Linked DNA regions of Homo sapiens: region 1 is linked to region 2. Evidence: promoter capture Hi-C in 16 types of primary human blood cells and fetal thymus (Javierre and others, 2016). All regions are on one chromosome and are shown on one strand. Each heading gives the region's core, a stretch centred on a gene start or on the middle of the fragment in contact. The rest is flanking DNA. Distances are from core to core; before and after follow the strand shown.

What was found. Contacts are between HindIII fragments. The CHiCAGO score rates a contact against its expected background, and 5 or more counts as called.
Region 1: the fragment with the promoter of MCEE here is called in contact with the fragment with the promoter of SNRPG in region 2 in 1 of 17 cell types (total B cells); the score reaches 5.6 in total B cells.

What each region holds. Positions count from the first base shown.
Region 1 is chr2:71,127,603-71,132,708 of GRCh38, forward strand. It overlaps MCEE (methylmalonyl-CoA epimerase), which reads right to left and starts at 2,627. Exons shown (of 3, transcript NM_032601.4): 1 at 2,578-2,627. The coding sequence starts at 2,617. MPHOSPH10 (M-phase phosphoprotein 10) reads left to right here and starts at 3,032. Exons shown (of 11, transcript NM_005791.3): 1 at 3,032-3,152. The coding sequence starts at 3,064. RefSeq lists enhancers at 1,850-2,708, 3,030-3,079, 3,180-3,229. The HindIII fragment of the contact is 1,939 bases long and covers 1,457-3,395 here.
Region 2 is chr2:70,292,070-70,297,003 of GRCh38, forward strand. SNRPG (small nuclear ribonucleoprotein polypeptide G) reads right to left here and starts at 1,671. Exons shown (of 4, transcript NM_003096.4): 1 at 1,549-1,671. The coding sequence starts at 1,580. LOC124906023 (a long non-coding RNA gene) reads left to right here and starts at 1,833. Exons shown (of 2, transcript XR_007086880.1): 1 at 1,833-1,863; 2 at 2,989-3,945. FAM136A (family with sequence similarity 136 member A) reads right to left here. Exons shown (of 3, transcript NM_001329752.2): 3 at 3,907-4,934. RefSeq lists enhancers at 429-1,336, 1,353-1,832. The HindIII fragment of the contact is 8,673 bases long and covers 1,020-4,934 here.

The DNA of each region.
Region 1 (5,106 bases), core at 1,377-3,876, 840 kb after region 2:
ATAATCTAATTTTAGAACACGTAATAAGTTTGTTTGTTTTTTTGAAACGAGTCTGGCTCTGTAGCCCAGGCTGGAGTGCAATGGCGCAATCTTGGCTCAGTGCAACCTCTGCTTCCCAGGTTCAAGCAATTCTCCTGCCTCAGCCTCCGGAGTAGCCGGGATTACAGGAGCGCGCCACCACGCCCGGTTAATTTTTGTATTTTTAGTAGAGATGGGTTTTGCCATGTTGGCCAGGCTGGTCTTGAACTCCTGACCTCAGGTGATCCACCTTCCTCAGCCTCCCAAAGTGCTGGGATTACAGGCGTGAGTCACCGCGCCTGGCCGAACATAAGTCTGAATTTTCACTGAATATCTGGTTTGAGGAAACATACGTATTTAGAAAGTCATTCATTAGAAGTGCTTTCAAGTTAGTCTGGTAAGTTTTCTCTTAAACATTTGACCAGTTAATTTCACAGCACCATATATATATCTTCAACTTGTTTCAAACTATGATCAATTTTTTTTATTCATTACAGTAAGTAAACAGATTACATTTCTGTTAGCCCATTTACAGACGATTAATGAAAGTAAACCTATGCAGTCATGTAAGTTGGTCATTCTTGTCTCCCACCTAACAGGTTCAATTTCCATTTTCAGAACTTTTCTACGTGTTCACTCTGATTTTTCTGTGCTTTTGTTTTTCGGCGAAGTTTTATGTTCCTTAAAAGAGGGGCCATAACATAGAATTACCATGTAATCCAGCAATTCCACTTATGAGTATACACACCCCCAAAGAAGCGGGAATTCAGAAGTATTTGTACACCCACGTTCATAGCTGTATTACAATAGCCAAAAGGTGGGGATAACCCAAATGTCTATCAAGAGACGAATGGATAAACAAAATGTGGTATACACACACAATGGAATATTATTCAGTCTTAAAAAGCAATTTTTTTTTTTTTTCTGAGACGGAGTTTCGCTTTGGTTGCCCAGGCTGGAGTGCAGTGGCGCGATCTTGGCTCACGCCAACCTCCGCCTCCCGGGTTCAAGCGATTATCCTGCCTCAGCCTCCCGAGTACCCGGGATAACAGGCGTGTGCTACCACGCCCGGCTAATTTTTGTATTTTTAGTAGAGACGGGCTCACGCCTGTAATCCCAGCACTTTGGGAAGACGAGGTGGGCAGATCACCTGAGGCCAGGAGTTCCAAACCAGCCTGGCCAACATGGTGAAATCTCGTCTCCACTAAAAATGCAAAAAATTAGCCGGGCGTGGTGCCGGGTGCCTGTAATCCCAGCTACTCGGGAGGCTGAGGCGGAAGAATGGCTTGAACCTGGGAGGCAGAGGTTGCAGTGAGCTAACGCCACTGCACTCCAGCCTGGGCGACAGAGTGAGACTCTGTCTCAAAAAAAAAAAAAAAGGTAAATTTTACTTTATGTATATTCAACCACACACACACACACACAAGTGGAGACATTAAGCTTCAAGTATCTTAATAGGACAAATCAAAGGCAATCTTTGGAATACACTGTCTTCATTTTTCCTTTATGCCAAGATGTGTATGTAAGTACAAAACAAACATGCACCTTTATCTGTATTGAGTTCTTGCAGTATGTATATGACCTGTTGGAAGTCATACTTTTTCCCAAACTGTCAATCATTAAAGTGTGCAGTTCTAAAAATAGACATAAAAATGCCTTTTCCCAAATATTCATTTATTTATAGTTTTACGTTCCTATCTTGTGTATCACCTAAGAGGAAGGTATGCCTTACGGTTAAGAATGTGGGCTCTGGTGCTAGAAGGATTTATCACGAATGTCCCGGAGTAACTCTGGGGCATTACCACTTGGCACCTTCTTCCTAATAGGGAATCTCAGATTAAGGGAAATACTTGCCCTCTCATAAAAGGAGGAAGAGAAAAAAAAAAAGGATAAAAAGAGGAGAAAGTGAGTCAGAAAACGTGACAATTATTACAGTTATTTCTGTCATAACTGATTCTATGTACATATTTTAAAAAAAATGAAGGGGGAGAGAACTCAAGAAAGTTTCCAAATCCACATGCTTTTATCTGTGTACGCGATAAATATATTAGTGCACGTGGAAAAACCACTCCTTTTGTATTCTTTACACCACTGACCTTTGAGTGTTCCCAACAGAAAGCTGGTCACGCTTGGAGTTCGGCCGACTAGTAGTTGTTGTTTTTACGGAACGTGCTCTCCTTTCTGGTTTCTCCCCAGTCTCTTTATTGGTGCGCGGTAAAATAACTTACCGATCCGCTTCTATTTACTTCTGTCCCTGCCCTGCCTGACCTGCCGGGCAAGTTCCCTCGACTCTCCCGCCCACATACTGGAAGGTGCAGAGCCCAAGGCGCACAGCTCTCGGATGGAAATGGGACTCATGCACAAGGCAATCCCCGCTACTAAGCGGTGGCGCTTCTGGAAGGCACCCTCTGCCTAAGTGACAGCAGCTGCTGTGGAACGCGCCCCCGGGGGAGGACATTAGATCAAGGTGCTTTGGCCACGCCGAGGCCTCCTCCGCCCCCGACCGCCGTTCCCACGCTCCCTGTCCCATGGCGAAGGTCGCCGGTGCCCGGTATTCACCTACGGCATTCGCGGCTGCAGCCTTCAGCACCCGCGCCATTTTGGAAAGCAACCCGCCACGTCAAGACTAGCCACGGAGGTTGAGAGACGCGCGGCAGAGGGCGGGGCGGGAGGCAGAGGGGGCGGGGACAGAAAGGTCAGGGGCGTGGCGAAGGTCGCTGCTTTCCTGCTACAACGGGCCTACTTTAGCTAAAACAGAAACGTAAGGCCAGGACGGGTCACCCTTTGTGGGCCCCTGAAAAATACAAAACGAAGTTTGGAGAGAGTTGAAAGGCGTTTGGGCTGACCATGGAGATTTTTGTTTCCCACCCTCCTGCGAAAGCGCTCGCGCTGCCATTGGCTCTGGCTGAGGGCGAGTCCGGAACCTGTGCGCCGCGGAACTTTCGGCTCTGAAATCCAAGTTGCGCTGGGCGCATCTTTGCCGCGCGGTTTCCGGGCGGCTCCCTTCCCTTGCATGCTGCATTGTGTCGGGAGTTGCTGACAGCCATGGCGCCGCAGGTCTGGCGTCGACGGACCCTGGAGCGGTGTCTGACGGAAGTCGGCAAAGCCACGGGTCGGCCCGAGTGCTTCCTCACGTAAGTGCGCAGATCCCGGGCTCGGGGTGCGACCGGGGTCTCACGTGGACGCGGGTTGCAGGCCTCCGGCAAATTGTGGAGCTGGGGGAAGGTAAGGGGAAACGTAAAATCGCTTTTCCCCAAATTTCAGAGTTTATGCTTTCCTAGGCTATCAAAATTTTAAAAACTGTTAAAATTTGTATAGATGGATCTCTCAGTTGAGTGTTACTGAAATCACTCTAACCTCAATTGTTAACACCTAGAAGCTTCCCTTGGGCTTCTTACGCCCCCATCCCTCTACACACAGACTGTTGGTTTCTCCTTCCTCCTATGTGCTCTCAAAGCACTTAGCGCTTAGCATACTTTATTGAAAGTACGAACTTGTCACTTGTCTGTCCACCCCCCATGACTAAGCTTCTTCAGAAATAGAACTTCCATGTCTCTTCCCAACACAAGCGTTTTATATGTATTTTGTTGAAGAATTTAAAATGTGATCTATGAAATTATTACTCATTTATGTTTCAAACCCCAACCTTTCCCTGAGTTCCCAGCTCACAGCAACTACAGACTGAGCTTAGTTTGAATTCCGTAGCACACAACTGGGATATCCACACTGTACAACTTTTAACGATTTTTAAAATTTTGGTACTGTCAAGCATCTCAAATTCACTGCGTCCAAAATAGAGCTGTTGTGTCTGTTTAATAGAATTGTTGTTTCTACCCACCTATACTCTGCCATCCCCTGAAGTCCTTTTCCCATGCTACACCTGTCAAGCGCGTCTGTGTGAAGAGACCACTAAAACAGGCTTTGTGTGAGCCACAAGGCTGTTTATTCACTTGGGTGCAAGTGGGCTGAGTCCGAAAAGAGAGTCAACTAATGGTGATGGGGAAGGGGTTGCTTTATAGGAGTTGGGTAGGTAATGGAAAATTACAGTAAAAGGTGGTTATCTATTAGCAGAGGAGGACGGGGTCACAAGGTACATGGTGGGGAGATCATAAGACTTATTGTCCAGAAGAAGAATGTCACAAGGTCGATTGATCAGTTAAGGTAGGGCAGGGACAAGTCACAATGGAGGAATGTTGTAATGTTGATTAATCAATTAAGGCAGGAACTGGCTGTTTTATTTCTTTTGTGGTTTTTCGGCTGCCCCAGACTTCTTGGCTCCTGCAGGCCATCTGGACATATATGTGCAGGTCACAGGGGTTACAATGGCTGAGCTTCAGCTCAGAGGCCTGACACCACCACCCAAGCCTTCCCTATCTCAGTAAATGGCACTTCTGTCTTTTCAGGTACTCAAACATAAAACTAGGCTGCTACTTTAATGTCTTCATTTTTCTCTATTCTATATCTAATTCTTTAGCAATCCTGTCAGTTCTACCTCCAAACTATACTCAGCATATTCACTGCTCTAACTCCAGTCTAAATCACCATTATCCTTTCGCTGGAATGCTGCATCAACCTTCTAATCACTGTACTTTCCTCCTCCTCCCTCGTCCCTTTCTCCTTCCTTCGTGTAAATCATCATTTCATCCCTCTGCTTAAAATGTTTTCTCTTTACACTTTAAATGACAAATTCTTACTCCTGAACCATGCATAATTTGGCTCCCATCAGTCTCTCCAGCTTCACCCTCTGCCTCCTTCACACTCTAGCCATGGTCACCTGTTTGTTTCCTCAAGCTCACCTCTAGAGGATTTGCATCTTAGAGGATTTCTTCTGCCTGGAATACATGTTTCCCAACCTTTATAAGACTATCTCCTTATCTGTAGGTTTCCTCTCAGATGTGACATCTAAGAGAGGTTTTCCTTGACCACTGTAGCCAAAGCAAATGTTGATCATTGAATGAATAAGTGAACAAATGAATGGAGTGGTATATAATGTAGCAGAATTGATAATTTAAGGTTAATTCACTATATATCTCCAAGCAAATAGATTTATAATGGTTTTCCTGCCTAAAATCTATACAGCCGATTCAC
Region 2 (4,934 bases), core at 421-2,920:
CCCGAGTAGCTGGGACTACAAGCGCCCGCCACCAAGCCCACGTAATTTTTTGTATTTTTATAGACACGGGGTTTCACCGTTTTAGCCATGATGATCTCCATCTCCTGACCTCGTGATCCGCCCGCCTCGGCCTCCCAAAGTGCTGGGATTACAGGCGTGAGCCACCGCGTTGGGCTTATGTTTTAATAATTAATTCCTTAACAGACCTAACTAAAATATACATAGAAGTAGTTTTCATACAAAAGATGGCTTTGATACAAATGGACCTTTAAATGCAAAAATATTATTATTTTTTGAAACAGAGTTTCGGTCTTGTTACCCAGGCTGGAGGGCAATGGCGCGATCTTGACTCACTGCAACCTCCGCTTCCCGGGTTCAAGCGATTCTCCTGCCTCAACCTCCGGAATAGCTGAGACTACAGGCGCACACCACCTGCCTGGCTAATTTTTTGTATTTTTAGTAGAGACGGGGGTTTCACCATGTTGGCCAGGCTGGTCTCGAACTCCTGACCTCAGGTGATCCTCCCGCCTCAGCCTCCCAAAGTGCTGGGATTACAGGCGTGAGCCACTGTGCCCGGCCGCAAAATTATTAAATAGGAACTTTACCTTTTGTCTGACTTCCATGGGCCTGGTAATAAATGAACTAACTATACACAAAGCCAACCACATGCTACGCCAGAAAAAACTGATCCCTGTAAAAATTTTGCATCCTTTGTGCAATCCAACTAATACATGTAGAATTCCAGCATCAGGAAGTATAAGCAAAACAGAAACGTAGTCAGGAAACACATAACCTGTTAAGTCCACTCAAAAAGTATTTGAGGAATTCAAAGCTTTACGTTGAGTCCTACCTAAAGTAAGGCTCTCCTACTTAAAGTTGTTTGACTTTACTGGGTGTGTAGAAAAAACTTCAAAAAATTAGCCTTCTCTGACTAGAAAAAATTAATGTTCTTAAAAAAAAAGAAAAATGAATGTTCTTATATAGTTTCAACATCAGAGCAAGATAACACATGACATTCAAGCTTAACGTAAAAGAAGGCAAGAAAAAGGAATGAGGTTTCTAAGTAAAAGCTCAAACACCTACAAACACATTTGCTAAGACTAAAGTGGCTTTCGGATTCTGATGCCTCACGTAGTTTTAAAAACACTTCCTTCCCTTCCAGCCCCTCCTTAGTTCCTTCAGAGAATTTCCCCCTCTAGCCGTCTATCTAGAACATGATACTATTCGAGATGTTCAACAAAAGGTAGCACTGGAGATCTTCAAGGAACGAGGGACAGCGCCGGGTGACCAGGGGCCAGACCGCGGGACCTGGAGACTAGTCGGCCGGAAGGAGGTGCCGTGGCTGCCGGCTGTAACCACACCGACGCGCGAGCTCTGCGCGGGCTTCACGTCTCATGCGCGGGAGCCTGGCCGGGATCCCGGCGACCTCGGACCGGAAGAAGAAATGAAGTGAAGCGGCTCAAGACATTCGGCTAACGGAGAGGGAACCAAGGGACTCGCAGGACGCAAATAACTGACCACTTCGGTTTGGCTCTCACACATACTTACTTTTTCAACTCGGGAGGGTGAGCTTTGCTCATGGTGTATACTCCGCGGGCTCACAGATGCCTTGGAACGCAACGCACGGCTTTCCTCACGCTCCCGCTGTAGGCCCGGCGTCTTGCGTCTGGCGTCATCGACCTCGTTAGCCAATGGATTGTTGGCAGTTTTTACATTTCACCTCGCGATATCTCAGCGCCTCGGTCATCGTTGAGCTTCCGGTTATGTCCTCAGCGATTGGCCAGGACGGAGGGGTGCGTCCTCTAGGCACCTTTCTGAATTCCGTTTTCCTTGTACAAAATTGAGATAACGGGTATTCCACCGGTGGGTATCCCTGCTCTTTTTCTTTTCTTTTTGAGACGGAGTCTAGCTCTGTCGCCCAGGCTGGAGTGCAGTGGCGCGATCTCGGCTCACTGCAAGCTCCGCCTCCCGGCCTCACGCCATTCTCCTGCCTCAGCCACCCGAATAGCTGGGACTACAGGCGCCCGCCACCATGCCCGGCTAATTTTGTGTATTTTTTAGTAGAGACGGGGTTTCGCCGTGTTAGCCAGGATGGTCTCGATCTCCTGACCTCGTTATCCGCCCGCCTCGGCCTCCCAAAGTGCTAGGATTACAGGCGTGAGCTACCGCGCCCAGCCGGTTATCCCTGCTCTTGTCTATGGAACAGCCAAAATAAATAAAAATAAATAAATAAATAAAAAAAGCCGGGCGCCGTAAATCCCAGAACTTTGGATCTCTTGAGCCCAGGAGTTCGAGACCAGCCTGTGCAACATAGCGAGACCCCTTCTCTATTTAAAAAATAAAATTGAGATATTGAGATAACGGTCCCGTCTCTAGCTCCTGGGCAAACCCGGCCAATCCCGCATGTCTGTGGATCGTATCGCTTATTTTCTTCATATATACCAATATACCAAATGATAATGATCCCTGGAGGAATGGGCCTCTCTCTATATATGTATATTTTTTTGAGACGGAGTCTTGCTCTGTCGCCCAGGCTGGAGTGCAGTGGCGCGATCTCGGCTCACTGCAAGCTCTGCCTCCCGGGTTCACGCCATTCTCCTGCCTCAGCCTCCCGAGTAGCTGGGACAACAGGTGCCCGCCACCACGCCGGGCTGATTTTTTGTATTTTTAGTAGACACCGTATTTCACTGTGTTAGCCAGGATGGTCTTGATCTCCTGACCTCGTGATCCGCTGGCCTCGGCCTCCCAAAGTGCTGGGATTACAGGCGTGAGCCCCCGCTCCCGGCTGGGCCTCTATATTTTTTTGGCAGGTAACCCTACAGCATACTGTCAGACCAAGTAGGGTTCCCGTAACATGTAAATTAGCAGCCTCTGAACCATTGTAGAGTAAGGTGACTGGGTCTGTCTCCAAGAATTTGAATCTATTTCTGACTGAGGGGTCTTGCAAAAAAAATTTTTTTTGAGATGAGTTCTTGCTCTGTCGCCTAGGCTGGGGAGCATGGTGTGATCATGGCTCACTGCAACCTCGAACTCCTGGCCTCAAGCAATCCTTCCACCTCAGCCTCCTGAGTTGTTGAGACTACAGGCGCACGCCACTGCACCCAGCTAATTTTTTTTTGTAGAGACGAGGTCTTGCTTTGTTGCCCAGGCTGTTCTCAAATTCCTGGCCTCAAGAGATCTGCCTGCCTCCGGCTCCCAAAGTGCTGAGATTACAGGGGTTAGCCAGCATGCCTGGGAATTCTGAAATTTTTCAAACACTACCTCCAGAACTCACTGATGTGCTATTGCCCCTGTATATAAAATGTGAAGTGCAGCACACAAACATTTTCTAATATAAGGTGTTCTTTTTTCATGTCAAGATGTGTAAAAAGTGGTCTCGGACTTGTTCCCAGTTGTTACCCCAAAATTATAGAAGACTAAACCAAAATAGAATACCTTGTGTTTAAATAGGGGATAGTTCTCAAAAATTCAGTTAATTCCTGATATTCTGGAATGGCTCTATATAAATATCAATGATAGTAAAGACTTAAACTCATCACATATTTTGCACTCTCTTAGTACTCAAAATCCTAGACACTGAATTTTTTCTAGCAGGGTCATAGCTTTGTACCTTTACTACCACTTGCTATTAGTGTTTAGTTGAAGCTAGAGACCTGACATAGATAATGAATTTCTCTTTTTAGCCTCATAGACAGTTTCTTTTCTACATTAATGAACTTCAAGTCACAATGTCCTAGTCTCCTCTCAAAGTTTTTCCCATTTACAGTGAACCAGTTCTGCATCTGAACCATAACAACTAATTTCCACTCTTCTGGACATTTTAACTCATTTAACCTGTTAAAAGGAGAAGCATCCTGAGAAAGTTACATATTCACCACCCAGATATAAGGAAAGAAGACTCAATAGTGGGGAGAAAATTAAACCTTATTTATTTTTAAAGTCAAACCACTAGGAAAATATATCACAGCCTGGAAACAGCAAACGGACAGGCTATATTATAATTTCAAGTAATAAGTTGGTGAAAATTCAACGAAGTTGCTATCAAAACAATAAGGTGCCATGCTGGGGCAGGAACACTGCCAGCTGCACAAGCCCCAGGCAAAAATGGTATTTGGTAATGGGGGCTGTCTCTCCTTTGCTCTAAGGGAGTCAGCTCATCCTAGCCCAAGTTGCTTACTTTTTCTCCCTTGAATTTCCTGTTGCCAGGGGTTTGTCTCAATTGGGCTCTGTTAATTCAGGGGGCTAAGTAGGCAATGCTAGGTGTAGGCTTTCATTCCATATGTTCTAATAAAACCAGGTTTTCCCAAATCCAGTACTTCATTTACTCTGTTGTAATCAAGTAGCCAACTGCTCCTCTTTTACTGTTCATTCCTAGATACTAGTATATATCACAATCAAAACCCCCTTCTCTTCAAGGGGAAAGTGTTACTGCAAGATTGTCCTGTCATTTTGTTACACACAGCCTCAGGGGCCATCAGCCAGTAATTCTGCTTCCCATAATTAGTGTGTCATCACCTCTCATGTTTCTGCACAGTCTCCAGGCTGAAAGATGCAGCATGTAATAATTTTAAGAAATGTACATCCACATCTTGATGACCAGAAATGGGGATCCACAAGGAACATTTCAAAGTTCTTATCCAAACTAGTCTACCTCCCAGTTCCACATCTTAAAATCAACTTGTATGCCCTTGTATAAATTACCCCAAATCAAGAAAACAAAGACCCAGAAAACTTTCTTTCCCTTCTAAGTTAGTGACCTCATTGATTTTGTTTCACAGCTTATGGAAGATGGTGGGGTGACACTTTTGGTAAACAGGATGTTGGCAACAAAGAGAAAATATCTCTCCTCAGACTCCACCAACTCTAACCTGCCAGCCTGTTAGTACCTGTGTAGTAAGAAGAGTCTGGTACCTTGGAGGGCTCTGGCTTGTTAC